Linked DNA regions of Homo sapiens: all the other regions are linked to region 4. Evidence: promoter capture Hi-C in human tissues and cell types (Jung and others, 2019). All regions are on one chromosome and are shown on one strand. The core of a region is centred on a gene start or on the middle of the fragment in contact, and the rest is flanking DNA. Distances in the headings are between cores, read along the strand shown.

Evidence for each region. The method cuts DNA at HindIII sites, captures the fragments that hold promoters and counts their contacts. A contact is called where the count stands out against the background at its distance.
Region 1: a fragment that was not itself captured here is called in contact with the fragment with the promoter of KIFC2 in region 4 in 1 of the 25 tissues and cell types used here (lymphoblastoid cells).
Region 2: a contact is called between the fragment with the promoter of ZNF7 here and the fragment with the promoter of KIFC2 in region 4, in 2 of the 25 tissues and cell types used here (lymphoblastoid cells and spleen).
Region 3: a fragment that was not itself captured here is called in contact with the fragment with the promoter of KIFC2 in region 4 in 2 of the 25 tissues and cell types used here (small bowel and spleen).
Region 5: a fragment that was not itself captured here is called in contact with the fragment with the promoter of KIFC2 in region 4 in 1 of the 25 tissues and cell types used here (dorsolateral prefrontal cortex).
Region 6: the fragment with the promoter of COMMD5 here is called in contact with the fragment with the promoter of KIFC2 in region 4 in 2 of the 25 tissues and cell types used here (H1 embryonic stem cells and lymphoblastoid cells).
Region 7: the fragment with the promoter of RPL8 here is called in contact with the fragment with the promoter of KIFC2 in region 4 in 4 of the 25 tissues and cell types used here (IMR-90 fibroblasts, lymphoblastoid cells, mesenchymal stem cells and 1 more).

What each region holds. Positions count from the first base shown.
Region 1 is chr8:144,892,179-144,895,299 of GRCh38, forward strand. All of the region lies in intron 1 of ZNF250 (zinc finger protein 250), which reads right to left. Among named protein-coding and RNA genes, the nearest start is that of ZNF250, 7.7 kb to the right of the region's middle. The HindIII fragment of the contact is 7,783 bases long and covers 1-3,121 here.
Region 2 is chr8:144,826,038-144,828,826 of GRCh38, forward strand. ZNF7 (zinc finger protein 7) reads left to right here and starts at 1,523. Exons shown (of 5, transcript NM_003416.4): 1 at 1,523-1,572. LOC100130027 (a long non-coding RNA gene) reads right to left here and starts at 1,003. Exons shown (of 5, transcript NR_147501.1): 1 at 1-1,003. RefSeq lists a silencer at 714-1,843 and enhancers at 1,175-1,700, 1,701-2,226, 2,227-2,752. The HindIII fragment of the contact is 13,991 bases long and covers 1-2,789 here.
Region 3 is chr8:144,745,072-144,747,976 of GRCh38, forward strand. All of the region lies in intron 4 of ZNF251 (zinc finger protein 251), which reads right to left. The region is part of intron 1 of LOC107986986 (a long non-coding RNA gene); the gene reads left to right. Among named protein-coding and RNA genes, the nearest start is that of ZNF251, 9.0 kb to the right of the region's middle. The HindIII fragment of the contact is 9,429 bases long and covers 1-2,905 here.
Region 4 is chr8:144,465,056-144,468,174 of GRCh38, forward strand. KIFC2 (kinesin family member C2) reads left to right here and starts at 1,282. Exons shown (of 18, transcript NM_001369769.2): 1 at 1,282-1,463; 2 at 1,705-1,783; 3 at 1,904-2,055; 4 at 2,148-2,286; 5 at 2,430-2,575; 6 at 2,659-2,724; 7 at 2,804-2,932. The coding sequence starts at 1,365. TMEM276-ZFTRAF1 (TMEM276-ZFTRAF1 readthrough) reads right to left here and starts at 646. Exons shown (of 5, transcript NM_001408018.1): 1 at 516-646; 2 at 1-41. It overlaps TMEM276 (transmembrane protein 276), which reads right to left and starts at 437. Exons shown (of 3, transcript NM_032687.4): 1 at 298-437; 2 at 1-41. RefSeq lists silencers at 156-385, 436-695, 766-895, 956-1,515, 1,566-1,875 and 1 more and enhancers at 1,649-2,485, 2,176-2,275. The HindIII fragment of the contact is 34,202 bases long and covers 1-3,119 here.
Region 5 is chr8:144,727,340-144,730,120 of GRCh38, forward strand. The region is part of intron 4 of ZNF251 (zinc finger protein 251); the gene reads right to left. Among named protein-coding and RNA genes, the nearest start is that of ZNF251, 27 kb to the right of the region's middle. The HindIII fragment of the contact is 6,507 bases long and covers 1-2,781 here.
Region 6 is chr8:144,851,768-144,854,559 of GRCh38, forward strand. It overlaps COMMD5 (COMM domain containing 5), which reads right to left and starts at 1,281. Exons shown (of 2, transcript NM_014066.4): 1 at 1,072-1,281. RefSeq lists enhancers at 496-1,344, 922-1,251, 1,802-1,901 and a silencer at 1,322-1,511. The HindIII fragment of the contact is 6,847 bases long and covers 1-2,792 here.
Region 7 is chr8:144,790,931-144,793,845 of GRCh38, forward strand. It overlaps RPL8 (ribosomal protein L8), which reads right to left and starts at 1,460. Exons shown (of 5, transcript NM_001317782.2): 1 at 1,062-1,460; 2 at 843-984; 3 at 347-565. The coding sequence starts at 1,199. It overlaps MIR6850 (microRNA 6850), which reads right to left and starts at 1,061; the gene lies at 1,001-1,061. RefSeq lists enhancers at 1-139, 2,552-2,915 and a silencer at 1,162-1,381. The HindIII fragment of the contact is 17,129 bases long and covers 1-2,915 here.

The DNA of each region.
Region 1 (3,121 bases), core at 304-2,803, 430 kb after region 4:
CCTCCAAATGTGTGTGTGAGCACACTTCTGTGTTAGCGCAATGCAACTCTAATTAGAATTCCAACAGAAGTCTTTTAAAGGAATGACTACAACTACTTGAGAATTCATAAGAAGAATGGATGCTAGAGAATAGCCAAGAATTTAACTGGAAAGAACAGAGGGTGGGGACTGCCTTGCCAGGAATCAGAGCCAAGGGTGGGTAGGAAGCCGCTGCAATTAAACCAACAAGTTGTTGACAGAGGAACAGATGAAGCCAGACAGGTATGTGGGAAATTGGAAGATAACAAAAATGTTACATTTTAGTTCAGCAGGAAATCAGTGGTTCCTTTAGTAACTTGTGTGTACCCAGATGGGATACATCAATAACCAATTTTTTTGTTTGTTTTTTTTTTTGAGACAGAGTTTCACTCTTGTTGCCCAGGCTGGAATGCAACGGCGAGATCTCGGCTCACCGCAACCTCCACCTCCTGGGTTCAAGTGATTCTCCTGTCTCAGCCTCCCAAGTAGCTGGGATTACAGGCATGCGCCACCATGCCCAGCTAATTTTTTTTGTATTTTTAGTAGGGACAGGGTTTCTCCATGTTGGTCAGGCTGGTCTTGAACTCCCGACCTCAGGTGATCCGCCCGCCTTGGCCTCCCAAAGTGCTGGGATTACAGGCGTGAGCCACCGTGTCCAGCCACCAATTTTTTTTTTTTTTTGAGACGAAGTCTTGCTCTGTCACCCAGGCTGGGATGCAATGGGGTGATCTTGGCTCACCGCAACCCCTGCCTCCCAGGTTCAAGCAATTCTCCTGCCTCAGCCTCCCGAGTAGCTGGGATTACAAGCACCCACCAGCACGCTCGGCTAATTTTTTAAATATTTTTAGTAGAGATGGGTTTTCACCATCTTGGTCAGGCTGGTCTCGAACTCCCGACCTCAGGTGATCCACCCGCCTTGGCCTCCCAAAGTGCTGGGATTACAGGCATGAGCCACCACGCCCAGCCCAACAATAACCAATTTTGGATTAAGATGAAGACCAAGTGTGAGCATTAACAGTGGCCTCATGTGCTCCTGGTCCCCCTGTCTGACATCTGCCTACCCTCAAGGGCAGAAGTGCCTTCTCTCCTGCCACACCCTGACCCTTTCCATGGGTCACCCACCAGCGCACAGATCTGCCATTTCTTTATTTTGAAACAGAATCTCGCTCTGTCACCCAGGCTGGAGTGCAGTGGCATGATCTAGGCTCACTGCAACCTCCGTCTCCCAGGCTCAAGCGATCCTCCTACCTTAGCCTCCTGAGTAGCTGGGACTACAGACACCTGCCTCCATGCCCGGCTAATTTTTGTACTTTTTGTAGGTACGGGGTTTCACCATGTTGCCCAGGCTGGTCTCGAACCCCTGAGCTCAAGTGATATGCCCCTCTTGGCCTCCTAGAGTGCTGGAATTACAGGCTTGAGTCACTGCGCCTAGCCCTGCATGCGAATTTGACCTTGGGTGAATGCACAGCTCTGGTCCCCTGGAAACCTGGCAGAGGTGGATGGTCATTCTCTCTACGGACCAATCACACCTGGGCTGTGACTCAATGATGAACAACCACAGGAAGTACATTCAGGGCCTCCCTAGCAGGTCTTGCAGCCAGTTCTCTTGACACAGGAGGTGCTGGCTTGTATGACCACGAGGCTTTCGACTAGGCTAACTCCTCCTCCTACCTGCATCTTGTGTTTATGCACCTCAGTACTCCCTGGATGGCTGCTGGATGATGCTGGCCAGCTTTTCCGAGAAGCTGCTGCTAGGCATGGTTGTCCTGTGAGTCTGAAAAGTCAGTTGAGCCCAGTAGCTCTTTTGGTACACTTGAGCTCGTGATCCCCCTTCCCTCTGACTCAACCTTTCAATATGGGTGTCTCATAGCATCTCAGACATTTAACATCCCAAACCAAGCACCCCCTCTACCATCATTTCTACCCCCAGCTTGGTCTGTGAGCCTGTGCATCAGCCTCCTTCCTTCTTCACTCCCACACTTCTATTCACCTTCCAAGCACATCCAGAACCTGACCATGTTGCCCATCTCGCCCTCCCTGCCCCATGACAACCACCCCTAGATGTTCGGCAGCTCCCATCTGGGCAGACAGACTCCCAGCACCGTCTGTCTGCCCAGCCCCTCCATCTACCTTCCTGTGAGAACACAGTGACTGTCCTCTGCTCCAAGGTCCTCCCAGGACCCCACTGGCTCCTATGGGCATGCCCCAAACTTTGTGATTTTCCTCAGAGCCCTGCAGCCCTTTATCCCTTGGCCTGTGCTCCCCATCCAACTCTTAGAGACCTCTGCCCCACCCACCGCAGCAGCCCTGGCCTCACCCAGCTCTCATCCTATCCCTTTCTCCTGCACCAGCAGACCAAGAAGCAGGCCCAACAGAGTAATCAGTGGTCGACCTTTTTTTTTTTTTTTTAATTACTTCTAGGCTAATGATTACAAATTGCCAGGCAATGTACTTTTTTAAACTTTTAATTAATTTCTTAGAGACGGGGTCTCACTTTGTAGTCCAGGCTGGAGTACAGTGGCTCAATCACAGCTCAATGCAGCCTCCAACTCCTGGGCTCAGGTGATCCTCCCACTTCAGCATCCCAAGTAGCTAGGAATACAGGTTGCACCACCATGCCTGGATAATTTCTTAATTTTTTTTTTTTGGTAGAGACGAGGTCTTGCTGTGTTGCCCAGACTGGTCTTGAACTCCTAGGCTCAAGGGATCCTCCCTCCTTGGCCTCCGAAAGTGTCAAGATTACAGGCCTGAGAACACCACACCCGGCCTGTTTGTTGAATAAATGAATGAAGAGGAATGAGCTCACACTTTATGCCATCTGTAATAGCCAAGTACGGAGTCAACACTTTAAACTGGCAGGCATGGGAAAGTGGAGTTTCTCATACTCTTAAGAAGGCGACCTAGCAGTATTTAGGCAAATCAGACTGGCCCTTGGATAGTGGGTACCTGATAAGAATGGATGTGGGTGAGGGTGCAGATTCAAGGATGTTGCTGAGGCAAATGCTACGTTGGTCCTTCCACATACAAGTTACACACCTGCTAAAGAGAAAGATGTATGTTGTGTCAGGTCACCAGATGGGTGAGTGAAAATGCAGCATGGGGC
Region 2 (2,789 bases), core at 273-2,772, 360 kb after region 4:
CGTGACCATGTGAGGGCCTGAGTGTGCCTGGCTTTGGAGGGTCTGCTTGCTCAGTGGCCTCTAGACTCAGCCGGGCAGTGGATGCAGTGGATGGAGGAAGCCCCCTCGCCCCAGACAGGACCTCAGGGCCTCAGAGCCCTGGCATCTGCACCCTGGACACAAGGAAGGTGCCTATGAGGTGGATGCTCTAGCCAGGCTTTCTCCCCCTCCTGCTCCTGTGTTACCCTGGTGTGCCCCCCTCACCTGCAGCAGGCCAGGTTGGGGCATAGGGTTGCCGGCCCCTACCAGCCCTGGGGGTCTGGAGGGCGGCTGGGGAAGCAGACCCCCTGTCCTTCCCTATCCTTCGCGACATGCTCCCTGAGCAGCTGCAGTCCACTTAGATGACCAGAGAGGATGTGGGGCTGAGGGAGCCGAACTCGGGGCAGCAGGGGCGGGGGTGGGAGTGCCGGGATCATCCGCACCGGGAGAGGCGAGGCCGGCGTCTGTTTTTCACCTGGGCCTCCCTGGGGGGCTGGGGGCTGCCTGACTCTTCCCTCCTTTGGTTTGCGCAAGTTTTCCCGCGCGGGTTCGGATCAACACGCCGGGGGAGCCCGGCTTACGTCCCTCCTGGACCCCCGCCCCGTTCTTCCCGTGGGGAGGGGCGCGTCAGGCGGACCTGGCACCCTCCGGCTGCTGGGCTTCGCCGGGAGCCACGCGGGGAGGTCCAGGCAGTCGGGACGCAGGCAGCGTCCTCGCCGAGGCTGCGAGTCCGTGGCCGTCCGGGGGAGGCGCGCAGGCTCTGCCGGACGCAGAAGGAACCCGAAGGAGGCGGGGTGGAGGGCGGTGCGGGGCCGGGGAGGGGCGAGGCGAGTGGCGAGTGGACGCCGGGCCCGGCCTCGGGCAACTCCGAGGGGCGCCCTTCCTCGGGGTCCCGGAGGCTCTGCGACCCCGCGGCCGCTCCAGCCGCTCACTGGGGACAAGGCCCGAGCCAGGCGTCTCCGCGAGGCGGGGTCCATAGCGCGCCCAGCAGGCGCCTCCTGTCGCAGGGACGCGGGGGAGCGGCGCCTGAACAGCCTCGGTGGGAACCAGCGCCCGAAGCTGGTGATCCGGGGTGCGCAGGGCCCAACCGGGCGATCCCCTGGATCTCCGCCAGCCTCGCCCCGACTCCGCTCCTCCCACCCGCCAGCGAGTCCGCAACTCCCGGCCCCGGCCCGCGTCCCCAGCTCCAGGCCCCGGCCCCGCCCCGCCCCTGCTCAGGCACCGCCCACTCCGGGCTCTGGGCCCTCCTCTCCCTCGCGGCTCCGCCCCCTGCCCGCCTCTGACTGTACCCCGCCCCCAGGCGCCAGCCCCGCCTATCTGGGCTTCTGGTCCCGCCCAGGTTCTTGTCCCTCGGGCCCCAGCCTCGCCCCTCCTCGGCTCTGACTCCACCCCTTCTCCGGAGCCTGGGAGGCGGGGCTGAGAACCACAGAGATGGCCGGGCCTCCGAGCGGCCCAGGGCGGCCGGAAGTTTGCGGGGCGGGGCGGACGCGGGTGGCCAAGGCCCGTTTCCGGCGGCGTCGCGCGTTTGCGAGCCTCGGGTGGTCCTCAGGGAGGGTGAGTCGGCGCGGCGGGCGCGGACTCGGGTTGCCCTCGGTCCGAGTGATCCCTGGTCGCTTCCTTAGCCCTCCCGCCTTCGGCATTGGGGTCCCCGCGTCCCCCGGGCCTCCAGGCGGGAAAGCGCGGGGGCTTTGCGGGGCCTTGAGCGCCTGGTGTGGGAGGTGGTCGAGCCCAGCCACCCTCCCCCGCGGCGGCGCGAGGTGGGCTTCGTTTGGCCGAGTCTCGCAGCTCCCCGCAGACCCCGCTCGTGGCGGCCACGGTGTCCGGGGCCTGAGTAAGGCGAGCTCCAGCTGCGGCCTTTTCTTCAGGCCTGGGTCTACTCCCGGGGCCCTGACTCCTCCTGCGAAATCACCTCCTTCTAGAGCCTTTTCTCTTTCTATTTATTGCCCCGGAAGGCCTAGGATAAGTGACAGTGGAGGAAGGAACGGTGCCTTGGGTGGGGTAGGCTGTTTGTCTTCTCTAAATTCTGGTTGCTATTCCGGGCATTCCTACTGTCAGGAGCCAGGTGGGGGGATCAGCCTACCTGTGCCGGTGACCTGGGGCTTCCACCCACAAACCACTTTCTGGGCCAGAAGCTGCCATACGAAGACTCTTTTTCCCATTCCGACCTCCCGGGGGAATGCCTGGGCAGGTAGAGGGTCTGGGGTCATTGGCTTAATTGAGGTGAACGATTTATATCAGATTACATCCCTGTGCCTGGTTCCATCCTGGCGACAGGTGAGCTGGAGACTGGAATTTATGTACTTGAGGGCAGGGGTTTCCATGTCCACTCTTGTCTTCCCTACAGTTTGTCATTTTTGCTCCTGCCTTCTCCAACCTCCAGTCGCTCACTGCCTTCCCCAACCTCCAGTCGCTCACTGCCTTCCCTTGCTGCCGGGAATTTACCCACACTGGTTCATCCAACCCCATTTCTTCTTGCTTCAGGCCCTTTCACATGCTATTCCTGCTGCCTGGAGTGCTCTCTCCACCTCCATTACCTTGGCCGAGGTCCCTGGGGAAGTGACCCATTACACTGAACGTTCTAGTCTAAGTGGCTTTCATAGTTCCCTGTACTTGAGCGCTGTCGTGGTTGCAGTGTGCTTATTTGTGTGGTTATTTAACTCTTTCCTCCGCCAGACTGCTTCGTGAAGGCAGGGTCCTCGTGTCCACTACTGTATCCCCATTACTCAGTGCCTGGCACGTGGCATCCACTTCTTACGGCTTTGTGGAGTGAG
Region 3 (2,905 bases), core at 118-2,617, 280 kb after region 4:
CGGGAGGGGAAGGGGAGCGGAGGAAAGTTACTGTTTTAAGCACTCAGCTTGTGGTTTTAAGTCTGAGCAGAATAAGACACATTTTAAGTTAATTTTTTGTGATGGGTGTCTAGATTCTTTTTTTTTTTTTTTTTTTGGCACGTGGATGTTCAGTTATTCCAGCACCATTTCTTGAAAAGATCATCCTTTCTACATTGAGGTGTGTTTGTTCCCTTGTCAAAGATCAGTTGCATATGTTTATGCAGGTTTTTATCTGGGCTCTCTGTTCTGTTTCATTGATCTATTTTTTCTGTTTTTTGACCAATACCACACTGCCTTGATTACTGTGGCTTTATAGTAAAAGTACTGAAATTGGGTACTATGGGTCCTCCAACCTTGCTCTTCTCTTTCAATATTGAGTTGACTATTCTGGGTCTTTTACCTCTCCTTATAAACATTACAATCAGTTTGCTAATATCCACAGAATAACCTGCTGAGTTTTTTTCGTTTTTTAGAGACAGGGTCTTGCTCTGTCAGCCAGGCTGGAATACAGTGGCATGATCATAACTTACTGAAACCTCAGACTCCTAGGCTCAAGCAGTCCTCCCACCTCAGCCTCCCAAATAGCTGGGAATATAGGCACATGCCACCAGGCCTAGCTAACAAAAAAAATTTTTTTGTAGATATGGGGTCTCACTATGTTGCCTAGGCTGGTCTTAAACTCCTGGGCTTAAGCGATCCTCCTGCCTTAGCCTCCCAAAGTGCTGGATTATAGGCATAAACCACCACACTTAGCCCCTGAGACTGTGATTGAGATTGTGTTGAATCTGTAAATCAAGCAGAGGACTGACATCATGATAATACTGAGTTTTCCTCATGAACAGACTATCTCTTCATTTATTTAGCTCTTCTTTGATATATTTTTATCAGTCTTGTATTTTTCCTCACAGATTTTGTACATATTTTGTTAGACTTACACCTCAGTATTTTATCTTTAGTGGTGCTAATGTAAATAATGTGTTTTTAACTTCAAATTCCACTTCTTCGTTGCCAGTATAAAGGAAAATGTAGATTTTCTGTAGATGCTCTCTATCAACTTGAGGAAGTTCCTCTCTATTCCTAGTTTGTTGAATTTGTAATCATGAATCGAGGTTGGATTTTGTCAAATGCTTTCTCCGCATCTACTGATATGACCACATGATCTTTCTTCAGCCTGTTGATGTGGTACATCACATTACATTAATTTATTTCCTAATGTTGGACCAGCCTTGTAAACCTGGGACAAATCCCACTTGGTCATGGTATATAATTCTTTTTATACATTGTTGGATTTGATTTGCTAATATTTTGTTGGGATTTTTGCATTTATGTTCATAAGAGGTGTCTGTCTGTAGTTTCCTTTTCTTGTAATGTCTGTTTGGTTTTGGCATTTGGGTGGATAACACTGACCTCATATGAGTTAGGAAGTATTCCCTCTGTTTTTATTTTCTGGAAGAGATTATAGAGAACTGGTATAATTTCTTCCTTAAATGTTTGGTAGAAGTCATAAGTGAACCCATCTGAGCCCAGTGGATTCTATTTTGGAAGGTAATTGTTGATTTGACTTATTTAACAGACATAGCCCTATTCAGATTGTCTATTTCTTCCCGTGTTTGGGAGATTGTGTACTTCAAGGAATTGGTTCATTTATCAAATTTGGGCACAGAGTTGTTCATCTTTTTTTTTTTATTACCCTTTAAAAGTCTGTGGGACATCTCTGTAGTGATGTTCCCTCTTTCATTTGATATTAGTATTTTGTGTCCTCTCTCTTCTTTGTCTTAGTCTGGCTAAAGGTTTACTGATTTTATTGTTTTTTCAAACCATCTTCTGGTTTCGTTGATTTTCTCTATTGATTTCCTGTTTTCCATTTCATTGATTTCTGCTTGAATTTTTATTTCTTTTCTTCTGCTTACTTTGTATTTAATTTGCTCTTCTTTTTCTAGTTTCCTAGAGTGAAAGCTTACATTATGATTTTAGATCTTTCCCATTTTCTAATACATGCAGTCAATGCTATAAATTTCCCTCTAAGCACTGCATTCACAGCATTCCACAAATTTTGGTAAGTTTTATTTTCATTTTCACTTAATTCAAAATATTCTAAAATTTATCTTGAGATATCTTCTTTGACTCGTGTTATTTGGAAGTGTGTTATTTGCCAAGTACTTTAGGATTTTCTAGCTATCTTTCTGGTTTCATTTCTAGTTTCATGTCATTGTGGTCTGAGAATAGACATTCTATGTTTTCTATTCTTCAAGTATGTTAAAGTGTTTTGTGGCCCAGAATGTGGTCTATCTTAGTGAATGTTCCACATGAGCTTGGCAGGAATGTGCATTCTGCTATCGTTGGATGAAGCAGTCTACAGATGTAAATTATTCCCAGCTGACTGATGTGATGGTGCTGTTAAACTCAACTGCATCCTGCTGGATCTGTCCATTTACGATAGAGGGTGCTGGATCTCCAACTGCAGACAGTGAACTCATCTATTTCCCCTTGTAGTTCTATCAGTTTTCGCATCACATATTTTGTTGTTGTTGTTTTTTGAGACGGAGTCTCGCTCTGTTGCCCAGGCTGGAGTGCGATGGCGCGAATCTCGGCTGACTGCAACCTCTGCCTCCTGGGTTCAAGCAATTCTCCTGCCTCAGCCTCCCGAGTAGCTGAGATTACAGGCATGAGCCACCACGCCCGGCTAATTTTGTATTTTTAGTAGAGATGGGGTTTCTCCATGTTGGTCAGGCTGGTCTCGAACTCCTGACCTCAGGTGATCCACCCGCCTCGGCCTCCCAAAGTGCTGGGATTACAGGCGTGAGCCACCGTGTCCAGCTGGTTTTGTGGTTTTTAGAGATAGTGTCTCACTCAGTTGCCCAGCCTGGAGCGCAGTGACGTGATC
Region 4 (3,119 bases), core at 32-2,531:
CAGTCCTAGACTTTCCGGATCCCTGAGGCCACTGCACACACCTGTGGAGAAGAAGAACCTAATTCAGCCGGGAAACGGGGGAAAACGACTCAGGGTCTAAGCTGGGGGGAACGTCAGCCCTGGGGCCCTGGAGCCCAAGTGGGAGTGCGGGCCTGGGGAAGAGAGAGCGGCGAGGCGCTGCAGGCCCACGCGGCGGCCTCGGCCTGCTCCCTGCGTTCCGGGAGGCGTTGTCCTGGGAACCCGGGTCCAGGAGGAGCGACGGCGCAGGACTCCGGGAGGCCAGCCGTGCGCAGTTACCGGGCTGCGCGGTCCCAACGCAGCGGCGAGCGGGAGGCCCGAGCCTGCGCAACGCACCGCCCACCGCCGTCGGCCCTGCCTCCTCTGCCGTGCCCCCAGTTGCGGGAGCGAGCGCGGTCGGGAACCTCCACCAGCGAGAGGAGCGGAGGCTAGAGCGGCCGGGCGGGGCTAGAGCGGCTGGGGGGGGAGGGTCGAGGCCTGGGGGAGAGGGTCGAGACCTGGGGGGGGCCGGTTGGAGGCCGTAGGAGCGGGTGGGGTCGGGAGGAGCTCGGGGACCAGAAAACGCTCTGTTTGGGTGGGTGCGTGCGTGGGCATAGTGGTTTGGAAGGAGCGTGATGAGGGGAGAAGGGCCGGGGCGGGGCTGCGAGGGGCGGGGTCTGGGCGGGGCTGCGAGGGGCGGGGGGTCTGGGCGGGGCTGAGGGAGATAAGGTTTAGGCGGGGCTGAGAGCGGCGGGTCTGAGAGGGAGGGGGCCTGGGTGGGGCGGGGCCTGGGCGAGGATGCGATGGGGGGGTCTGGGCGTGGCTGCGAGGGGCGGGGCCTGGGCGGGGCTGCGAGGAGAGGGGTCTGGGCGAGACTGAGAGGGACCGAGAGGGGAGGAGCCTGGGCGAGGCTGCAAGGAACGGGGTTTGGGCGGGGCTGCGAGGAGGGGGGGTCTGGGCGGGGCTGAGATGGGCGGGGCTGAGATGGGCGGGGCTGTAGGGAGAGGAAGGAGAACCCCGGCGTGTTGAAGGCTCCGCGAAACCGGAGCGGTGGGGGACTACGCGGAGGGTGGGAGGGATTCCGAGAGGAGGGTCGCGGGAGCCGTGGGCGCTCTCAGCCCGGTGTCCGCGGTGTAGGGGTTGGGGCGCGCCGGGCGGCGCCGTGAGAAACGGCGGGTCTCCAGGTGCGGCCGCGGGCACCTGTTTCTAGTACCCCCGTCCCCGCGCTCGCCTTCCAGCCGTGGGAGCCGGGCCGTGGGGGCGGCCGTCGCGAGCATGCGCACCGGCACTGCGGCGGGCGGGCGCCGAGTCTGGGCGCGGGGACGCGGGGCGGCGCGAAGCGGGGCCCTCTGCCGCCCCGCGCTCCCATGTACGCCTTTTACTCGTTGCTCATCTACATCTTCTACAGCCTCTTCCGCAGGGATGGTGGCGCCGCGGCGGCCGCGGAGCCCGGGGACCCCGCCCAGGTGAGCGGGGCTGGCCGTGCAGCCCGTCGTCTCCCGCCGCCTGCCCCACCCCCACGCCGAGGTTCCCGGGGCGGGGGCGGGCACGGGGCGCGGGGCGACGGGGCCGTGCCGAGGACCCTCGGCTCGGCCCCGATGCTGGAAGCGTAGACTTCGGCCCCAATCCTCCGGCCCGGTTCGCGGAGGGAAGGGGCCAGCAGGCTGCCTGCCCCCCTCCTCAGGGGCGCCCCTGCCCCCTCCCTAGAGAGCCCGCAAGCCCCGGGGTCGCCGGCGCCCAGACCTGCCCGCGCCAGAGCTGTGGACCGAGCTGACCGGCCTGGCCGGTAGGTGCGGGCTGGGAGTCCCGCGGTGCGAGGGCGGTGCCGGGACCTCCCAGGGAGGGGCGGAGGCCTGGCTCAAGCACGTGACCCGAAATGTCTCCCGCCCTCCTCCCTGACCGGCAGCCAGCTCCGAGCCTGAGGATGGGTCGGAAGGCGCAGCCGAGGGCCGCGCGGCCGCGGTGTCCCTGGAAGAGGCCCTACTGCGCCTCGCCGAGTTCCTCTCCGTCCAGCTGGGGGCGGAAGAGAGCTGCGGGGGCCCGGCGGACCTGGGCCAGGTGAGCGCGGCGGAGGGGGCTGCTGGCAGGTACCACCTGCCCCGGCCTTCCTGGCTTTCACAGCCCTGCTCGGATTCTTGTCTCCTTCGCAGTCTGGCGAGGTCCCCTCACTGTTGACAGTGACCAGTCAGCTCTTGGCCCTTCTGGCATGGCTTCGAAGCCCCAGGGGGAGGCAGGCCCTGCTCCAGGGGACTCAGCCAGCCCCTCGGGTCCGGCCCCCCTCTCCAGATGGTGAGTAAAGGACAGTAAGTTGAAGAAGAACTCTGGAGGGAGCAAATCCCGGTAGAACCTGGGCGGCCTGGAGTTCGGGGTCATGTTCCGGAAGATTTGGACTAGAGACCTCTTCAGTGCTAACTGGGCCCACCCTACTCCAGGATCCACATCCCAAGAAGAAAGCCCTTCCCACTTCACCGCAGTCCCAGGCGAGCCACTGGGGGATGAGACCCAGGGACAGCAGCCCCTCCAGTTGGAGGAGGATCAGAGGGCGTGGCAGCGGCTGGAGCAGCTCATCCTGGGACAGGTGAGGTCCCTGGAGCCAGAAGGGATTGCCGGCTGGGACGCCAGAAAAAGGAGGTCCACCCTGTCTCTCTTACTTCTCCCCAGCTGGAGGAGCTGAAGCAGCAGCTGGAACAGCAGGAGGAGGAGTTGGGTCGACTGCGCCTGGGCGTGGTGAGGCTGCAGGGAGACCTGGCAGGGCCGGGCATGGAGGGGGTGCTTCAGGTGAGTGCCGAGGTTTCCTCTCCACCAGGGGGCGACGGACTCAGAGAAAAGGGTTCAGCATCTGACTCTGGAGAACGAGGCCCTGAAGCAGAGCCTGAGTCTCATGCGGGACCTCCTGCTGCACTGGGGCCCCGGGCCCCCCATCAGGGCTCCGCAGGTACTCTGCTCCCGAGCTGCAGCCGTTCCTGCAGCCTGGGGCTCTTGCACACCTGGCATGCAGCCACAGGGCCCGAGCCTCCTCAGGACCTCCCGGGATGGTCTGTGTAGGGCAGCCCCATCAGGGAGGCTGATGCCAATGGGAAGACCCCCCTCTCCGTGGCCCCTCTGAGTGGCTGACCCCAGGA
Region 5 (2,781 bases), core at 185-2,684, 260 kb after region 4:
ATTGCCTTCTCTCTAGCTATGGGAGTCCTAGATGGCATCTTCTTGCAATAGAAGGCTGTTTTGTCTACACTGAAAATCTATTATTCAGTGTAGCCACCTTCATCAATCATCTTAGCTAGGTCTTCTGGACAACGTGCTGCAGCTTCTCCATCAGCAGTGGCTGCTTCACCTTGTGCTTTTGTTATGGAGACTACGTCTTTCCTTAACCCTCATGAACCAACCTCTGCCAGCTTCAAGGTTTTCTTCTGCAGCTTCCTTACCCCTCTCAGCTTTCGCATAATTGAAGAGAGTTGGGGCCTTGCTCTTGAGGCGAAGCTTTGGCTTAAGGGAATGTGTCTGGTTTGATCTTCTATCCAGACAGTTTGAGGGGGACTGAAACTGTCTCCATATCAGCAATAAGGCTGCTGTACCTTCTTGTCATTCATATGTTCACCAGAATAGCACTCCCAATTTCCTTCAAGAACTTTACTTTTTACTGTTATTTTCTTTTTGAGACAGGGTCTCACTCTGTCACCCAGGCTGGAGTGCAGTGGTGTGATCATAGCTCACTGCAGCCTCAAACTCCTGGGCTCAAGCGATCCTCCTGTCTCAGCCTCCTGAGAAGCTGGGACTACAGGCTTGATCCACCACGCCTGAAGAAGTTTTGCTTTGCATTCACAACTTAGCTAACAGACGCAAAAGGCCTGGCTTTGGCCTGTCTCAGTTTTCACCGCACCTTCCTTACTAAACTTGGTCATTTCTAACATTTGCAATAAAGCGAGAGGTGTGTGACTCTTCCTTTCATTTGAACACTTATAGGCCATTCCAGGGTTATTAATTGGCCTAGTTTCGATATTGCTGAGTCTCAGGGAATATGGAGGCCCTAGGAGAGAGAGAGGGAGGTAGGGAATGGCTGATCAGTGGGTCAGGACAGCCAACACTCATCGATTAAGCTCACCGTCTCATACAGGCAGAGTTCATGGTGCCCTTGAAACAATTACAATAGCAACATTAAAGATCGCAGATCACAGAGCACCATAACAGATATAAAAAAAAGGTTTGAGGCCAGGCGCAGTAGCTCATGCCTGCAATCCCAGCACCTTGGGAGGCCGAGACGGGCGGATCACGAGGTCAGGAGATCGAGACCATCCTGGCTAACATGGTGAAACCTCATCTCTACTAAAAATACAAAAAATTAGCCGGGCGTGGTGGTGGGCGCCTGTAGTCCCAGCTACCCGGGAGGCTGAGGCAGGAGAATAGCATGAACCCGGGAGGCGGAGCTTGCAGTGAGCCGAGATCGCGCCACTGCACTCCAGTCTGGGCGACAGAGCAAGGCTCCGTCTCAAAAAAAAAAAAAAAAAGGTTTGAAATACTGCAAGAATTACCAAAATGTGACACAAAGAAGTGAGCACGTGCTGTTGAAAATGGCACTGACAGACTTGCTCAACACAAGGTCGTCACAAACCTTCAATTTGTAAAAAAAAATGTTCGCCAGGCGCAGTGGCTCGCACTTGTAATCCCAACAGTTTGGAGGCCCAGGGGGGCAGATCACCTGAGGTCAGAAGTTTGAGACCATCCTGGCCAACATGGTGAAACCCTGTCTCTACTAAAAATACAAAATTAGCCAGGCATGGTGGCGCGCGCCTGTAATCCCAGCTACTTGGGAGGCTGAGGCAGGAGAATCACTAGAACCTGGGAGGCGGAGGTTGCAGTGAGCTGAGATCGCGCCATTGCACTCCAGCCTGGGCGACGAGCAAGACTCCATCTATGGAAAAAAAAAAAAAAAAAAAGCAGCAGTATCTGCAAAGCCACAACAAAGTGAAGTGGAATAAAATGAAGTGTGCCTGACCTATATTCATGTTAAAATTTAAAAATACGAGTTTACTCCTAAAGCTCCTGGTTATAAAAGTCAAAAGAAAAATTGGGATAAAAACGAAAACAAAATTTTATGTCATTTTCTCCATGCGTAGTGCCCTTTTAGCAAGCATATAAGATTCCTTTTATTTATTTATTTTTATTTTTTTTTTTTTTTTTGTGAGATAGAGTCTTGCTCTGTCGCCCAGGCTGGAGTGCAGTGGCGCAATCTCGGCTCACTGCAAGCTCCGCCTCCCGGGTTCACGCCATTCTCCTGCCTCAGCCTCCCGAGTAGCTGGGACTACAGGCGCCCGCCACCACGCCCGGCTAATTTTTTGTATTTTTAGTAGAGACGGGGTTTCACTGTGTTAACCAGGATGGTCTCGATCTCCTGACCTCGCCATCCACCCGCCTCGGCCTCCCAAAGTGCTGGGATCACAGGCGTGAGCTACCGCACCCGGCCTAAGATTCCTTTTAAATGCCAGGGTCCTCCCTGATGTCTCATATCAACGTAACTGCCCGCTTAAAAATAGATCTCTTGGGATGGGCATGGTGGCTCGCGCCTGTGATCCCCGCACTTTGGGAGGCTGAAATGAGAGGAGAGCTTGAGCCCACGAGGTGGAGGCTGCAGTGAGCTGAGACCGCACCTCCGCACTCCAGCCTGGGCAGCAGAGTGAGACCCTGTCTCTGAAGAACCAAAACCAAAACAGATCTCTCATCAGGCTATCAACAGGTTACATGTGTTTTTTGTGACTACTCAGATAAAGATGTTCAATTGTAACAGTTTCTCAACATTGCAGGCAGGGCTGAGCCCACCCAGGGCTGGCGTTGTTCCCAGGAGCGGGTGCCCTCACCCACCAACTCGAGGCCGCTCACTCACTGTGCAGCTGTATGGCAGGCCCAGCAGTGCCTCTCCCTTCGTACATCACCAGAGTCGGCTGAAAAGTG
Region 6 (2,792 bases), core at 31-2,530, 390 kb after region 4:
CCATTTAACTATTCAATCTTGAATCCTTCACAACAGTGGGCAAGAAGAATTACCATTCTCACCTGACAGAGAGGGAGATAAGGCTCTAGGCCAGGTGCAGTGGCTCAAGCCTGAAATCTCAGCACTTTGTGAAGGTGAGGCCAGCGGATCGCTTGAGCCCAGGAGTTGGAGACCAACCTGGGCATCATAGCAAGACCCCGTTTCTACAAAAAATTTAAAAAACTAGCCAGGCGTGGTGGTGCACGTCTGTAGTCCCAGCTACTCAGAAGGCTGAGAGGACAGAGGATCCCTTGAGCCCAGGAAGTCGTGGCTGCAGTGAGACGAAATCGAGCCGCTGCACTCCAGCCTGGACAACAGAGATGCTGTGAGGAAGGAAGGAAGGAACGAACGAATGGAGGGAGGGGGGAGGGAGGGGAGGCAGGGAAGAAGAAAAGAAAAGTAAAAAGAAATCAAAGCTCTAAACACAGCTGCCAAAGTCAAGGACTGAAGCCTAGACCTGTCTATTCAGAAGTCCCAGCTGTTTCCACCACAGCCCCAACCCCCGGGCTGGAAGAGCTGAGCAACGGCTGGCAACAGAGGCAAGTGCGGCAACTAAAGAGGGTTCCGACGCACCTGAAGGAGCAGTGCAGCAGCACAAGCACCTGCTATGCCAGAGGAAACGCACGTGCCCACCTCAGCACACCAGGTACTGGAGCAGAGCTCAGCGGGGCACAGCTCCTGTCCTCGAGGCACTTGTCAGGCCACTCTGCACAGCGCTGGGGGAGCCCAGGAGCTCCCCACGGGCTTCACGGCGCCCCATTCTCCCTGGGAGTCAACGACCACCCACTGCCAACTCCTTCACCGTCCCGCCAGCACCAGGAGCTCCTTCCCACTCCAAAGAGCCATCCGGGAAGGCCTCCGAGCTGCCCGCTTCCGGTCGCGCGGCTTGGAAGGCCGGGTTCGCACCCTGACTCCGTACCCGCGGCTCTGATGGGGGCGCGGCGTCGCCCGTTCCGGGGCGCGGGGACCTTGGTGCACAGAGTCAAATTGGCACTCGGCCGTCGCCGCCCCCACGGTTCGGGGCCAACCTACCGGCGGGCGCTCCTCCGCGGAAAAGCCCCGCAGTATCCAGAGCTCTCCGAACACAGCGGCGAAGCAGCCTTTCCTAGGCCCACACCCCCAGCTCGGGAGGGAGACTCCATCCTACTCCACCCCACGCTCCCGCTGTCCGAGTCGCCCCCAGCACCTGGCGCCGGCAATCCCCGGCTGATGCAGCCAAAAGCGGGCCTGGTCCCCGGAAGCGCCCTGAGAGCCACTTCCGGGCCGCTCTAGGAAGGCAGCAATGACCGCCCCACTGTGGTCCGCTGGCCCGAGGGGCGGAGCCGAGGCCGCGCCAGGTCCCGCCCCCTCCCCGCCCGGGGGAATCGGGGGTCGCCGGCGGGGTCCCAGACCTCGTCTTAGACAGTTTTTTTTTTTTCTTTCCCCAAAGAAAAAGAAGGCGGTGTTGTGTTTCCGTTTCTGAGGTAGAAACTGCGGCCTGCGCCCGCGTCTCCCTCCCCGCCCGCGCAGAGTGAGGGTAAAGCGGGAGAACGCGTCCCGTGGTCTGGGGTCAGAATTCCAGTCACCTGAGGCTGAGGAGCTCGCTGGCTTTCGTCGGCGTCCGGGTGGGCGGCGGGGAAACCGCGAGACCTTGAGGATCAGCGCGGAGCGGAGCCGAGCGGGCGTCCCTGTCCCGTGTGGACGGTCTGCGCCTCCAGGGTTTTGAGAGCTGCCCCGTTTCCCCTCCTGTCGGGTGGCGTCCGGCGCGCGTGACTCGGTTCCGCTTTGGGCTGCTCTGTTGGGCCCTAGCGCAGGAGCTCGGTCCGAAACAATGGCCGAGCCATTTTATTTAACATGTACTTTACCATAGTTAAAAAATAATATGCCAAAATCATTGAATTGTACAAAATGGGTGAATTATATGGTATGTGAATTATAGCCCAATAAAACTTAAAAAAAAAAAAAAAACTCTGAAAAGGGAAACAACCTAATTAAATGGGCAGAAGATGTGAGTAGACATCAAGGAAGATACAAAGTGGGTAATGGGTACATGAAGCCTTCGGCATTGTTGGCTATTAGAGAAATGCGAATGGAAGCCACGGGGAGGTGCCATTTCATACCATTAGAAGGGTTATAATAAAAATGACAGGTTGGGTGCGGTGGCTCACGCCTGTAATCCCAGCACTTTGGGAGGCGGAGGTGGACAACCAGATCTCAGGAGAACTCTATCATGAGACCATAACTTAAGGGCATGGTACTAAACCATTCATGAAAAGCCACCCCCACGATCCAATCACTTCCCACCAGTCTCCACCTCCAGCATTGGGTATTACCTTTCAGCATGAGGTTTGGGCGGGGACACAGATGCAAACCACATCAGCCATACAATGGAATAGTGTTCAATAATAAATAGGAGTGGAGACTGGGTGCAGTGGCTCATGCCTACAATCCCAGTACTTTATGAGGACTAGGTGGGAGGACCACTTGAGGCTAGGAGTTCAAGACCAGCCTGGGCGACATATCAAGGCTTCATTTTTACAAAATTAAAAAAAAAAACAGGTGTGGTGGTGTGCACCTATAGCAGGGGTCCCCAACCCTCAGGCTGTGGACCGCTACAGGTCAGTGGCCTGTTAGGAACTGACCTCACAGCAGGAGGTGAGGGCAACCTATAGTCCCAGCTATTTGAGAGGCAGAGTGAGGACCACTTCAGTTCAGGAATTTGAGACCAGCCTGGGGAACATGGCAAGACTCCATTTCTAAGACAAAACAAATCA
Region 7 (2,915 bases), core at 210-2,709, 330 kb after region 4:
GTAGGCGTCTTTGAGAAAGCCACAATCTCTCCCTGCCTTCTCTAAAAAGGCTGTTAACCAACTGCATGCAAGTGCAGCAATCAGGAAGCCCACGGTAGAATCCAAGACCCTGGTGACTTCGTCCCAATCTCATTTAACGCCTCAACAGCAGTAAAGCAGGTACTGTTGTGCCTGTTGTACAGTGATGACAACTGAGACTACAGGATGAGCTCAAACTTACAGAACCCAAGTTTTAGAACAACAGGTAATCGAATTCCAGGGACCAAGTCTAGCCACTGGCTGTCCACCGGCACTCACAGCATGTTCACCCACAGCCCTCAGCATTCAACTGCTGCCTGATACTCACCAACCACAGCTCTGTTGGCTGAGGAGATAACCTTCTTGGAGCCGGAGGGCAGCTTCACACGGGTCTTCTTGGTCTCAGGGTTGTGGGAGATAACGGTGGCATAGTTCCCTGATGCCCGGGCCAGCTTGCCACGGTCTCCAGGCTTCTCCTCCAGGCAGCACACGATTGTACCCTCAGGCATGGTGCCCACAGGGAGCACATTGCCAATGTTGAGCTGGGCTGCAAGGGGAAGCAGCATCAGGCCGTCAGCACAGTAAGAAACAATGCGAACCCCCTCGCTCTAGGCAACCCGCGAAGTTGCGAGCACAGCATTCAACATCCAGCCTCCCGGTACAACTCTCTCGGCACCCACCGGTGGCCACTGGTCTGGCCACGCGGATGTCCCCACCTGAAGCTTCTGCCTGCGAGGTTCCCATATCGGCTTAGGACGTTAACTCCTCAGGCAACACCCAGACCCCTCCCCACCCCGACCTTCCTTCCCCGCCGCGATGCTAACCCTTCTTGCCGCAATACACAAACTGGCCCGTGTGAATGCCCTCGGCGGCAATGAACAGCTCCGTCCGCTTCTTAAACCGATACGGATCCCGGAAGACCACCTTGGCGAGGGGCGCGCCGCGGCCCGGGTCGTGGATGATGTCCTGTGGGCAGAGGCGGCGTGAGTGCGGCGTTCCGGCCGGGCGTCCCTTCCCCTCCCGCCCCGGCCAGCGTTCCGCACCTTGACGATGCCCTTGATGTAGCCGTGCCGCTCAGCGAAATCCACGGCGCGCAGGCGCGCAGCGCCTTTACGGTGCTTCACGTGCGCGCGGAACACAGACCCGGCGCCCTTCCTCTGTCCACGGATCACACGGCCCATGGCGACGGGTCCTGGGGGCGACTCACGATTAGCGCGGCCGGGCGGCCCGGGTACCCCCGCCAGCCCGGCTTTCCGGGACCCCGCCCCCGAGGCCGCCGCGCCCACCACTCCCTACCCTCTCCGCGGGCGCCCGCACCGGCATCCTCTCAGGAGGGCCGGTCCGGGTCTCAGCGCGCCTCACGGAAGAGGATGGCGGCGGATACTGCCCATGCCGCAAGGCCGCAAGGATGACCTACCTGTTCACCAGCGCGGCCGAAAGAGGAAACACGGCGTCAGCGAGCGGCCTTATCTTCCGGGGCGGGGCCCAGGGCCGCGACACCTTCCGGGCGCGCCACGGCCAGCCTAGCGCGGTGCACGCCGGGGCTTGTAGTCACCAGCGGCCGCCGGCCCCGCCTACTTCTCCTCCTCCAGGGCCCCCGCGCAGGCGCACCAGGAGACGCGGCTGAAGGTGTCCTGGTGTGCGTGGGCTCGGAAGGAGGGTGCAGGAGTGCTCGGCTTTCACCGGGGTCTCCGGGAGGGCAGGTGTTTTCTGAGTGGCCGAGGAGGCGCCAAGTGGTTGAGTGACCTGTCCAGGGTGTCACAGAGCGACCCACTCCGGGCCACGGGGTCTGGGGCTCCCGGCTTGCCTGGTGAGGGGCTTCCGTGTAGGCCGAGGGGGTTCTCGCTGGTGCAGAGCAGGAGATGGGCAGGGGAGACGCGTGGACCCACTCGTGGAACGTCATGGTTTGCAGGTGGCAAATGTCCGTCTCCCTGATGAACGGGCGCTTCTGGACGCGGGGACCTTATCCACTGTAGGCCCTTGGAGAGGTCGGGCGTCGAGGAGAGGAGCCCCGGGATCCTTGCCGAGGGTGAGGGCCGGCCGGCCCAGGAAGTGGGGAGGGCCAAGCTGGAGGGTCCCGGGTCGAGGAAGAAGGAGCGGGGATGGGCTGGGTCACATGCTGCGGAGTGGACGAATAATGGGAGACTGGACCGTACCCTGACCAGAACCCTGTGCGGGAGAGGTGGGGAAGGAGCAAGAAATGGAGGCTGGGAGGGGCTGTGGGGGCCTGAGCTGGAAAGAGTCAGCCCGACTGGGGGTGTCCTGCGGTACGTGCTGTGGAGAGGGGCTTCGCGGAATCGGGCCCCTAACGGGTGGGACCCCGAGGCCGCGGGTGGGGGATGGTGGGGAAGAGGTTTTCCAGGAGAGAGTCCCTGGCTGAGTGAGCACTGTCGAGCACACGCGAGGCCGTGGGTGGGGAGGCAGCAAGGAGGTGAAGGCGGGGGTCCCAGTGGGCGGGAGAGGCTTGCTGTCGGTACTGGGAGGTGGGGTGTTTCCTAGACCCTGCAGGGGCTGAGGCAGGGTTGACATCGTGAGAAGGAGACAGGAGAGGGTGGAAGGGTGTCCTGTGCCCGCTGTTGCTCACAGGGGAGAGGAGGGGCTGCTGCAGGAGGCCCTCCCCTAGGGTCGGCAGGGGGATGGAGGAGGAGCTGCCCGGTGGGGACTCAGGAAGCAGCACAGCCCACAGCTAGGGCCAGGGGCTGAGGGGCAGGACTGGACCCTGGGGGCAGGGTGAGGGGTTCTGGGGTCAGCCCAAAATTGGCCCACAGGCCCAGCCTGTCCGTCACTCCTGAACAAATCTGCTTCTCTGGAGGAGCAGAAGGAGAGTTGGGTGCGGGATAGAGGTGAGAAGAGTGCTTGGACACACAGGCTGTGGGGTCCCCAAGATGGTCTCACGG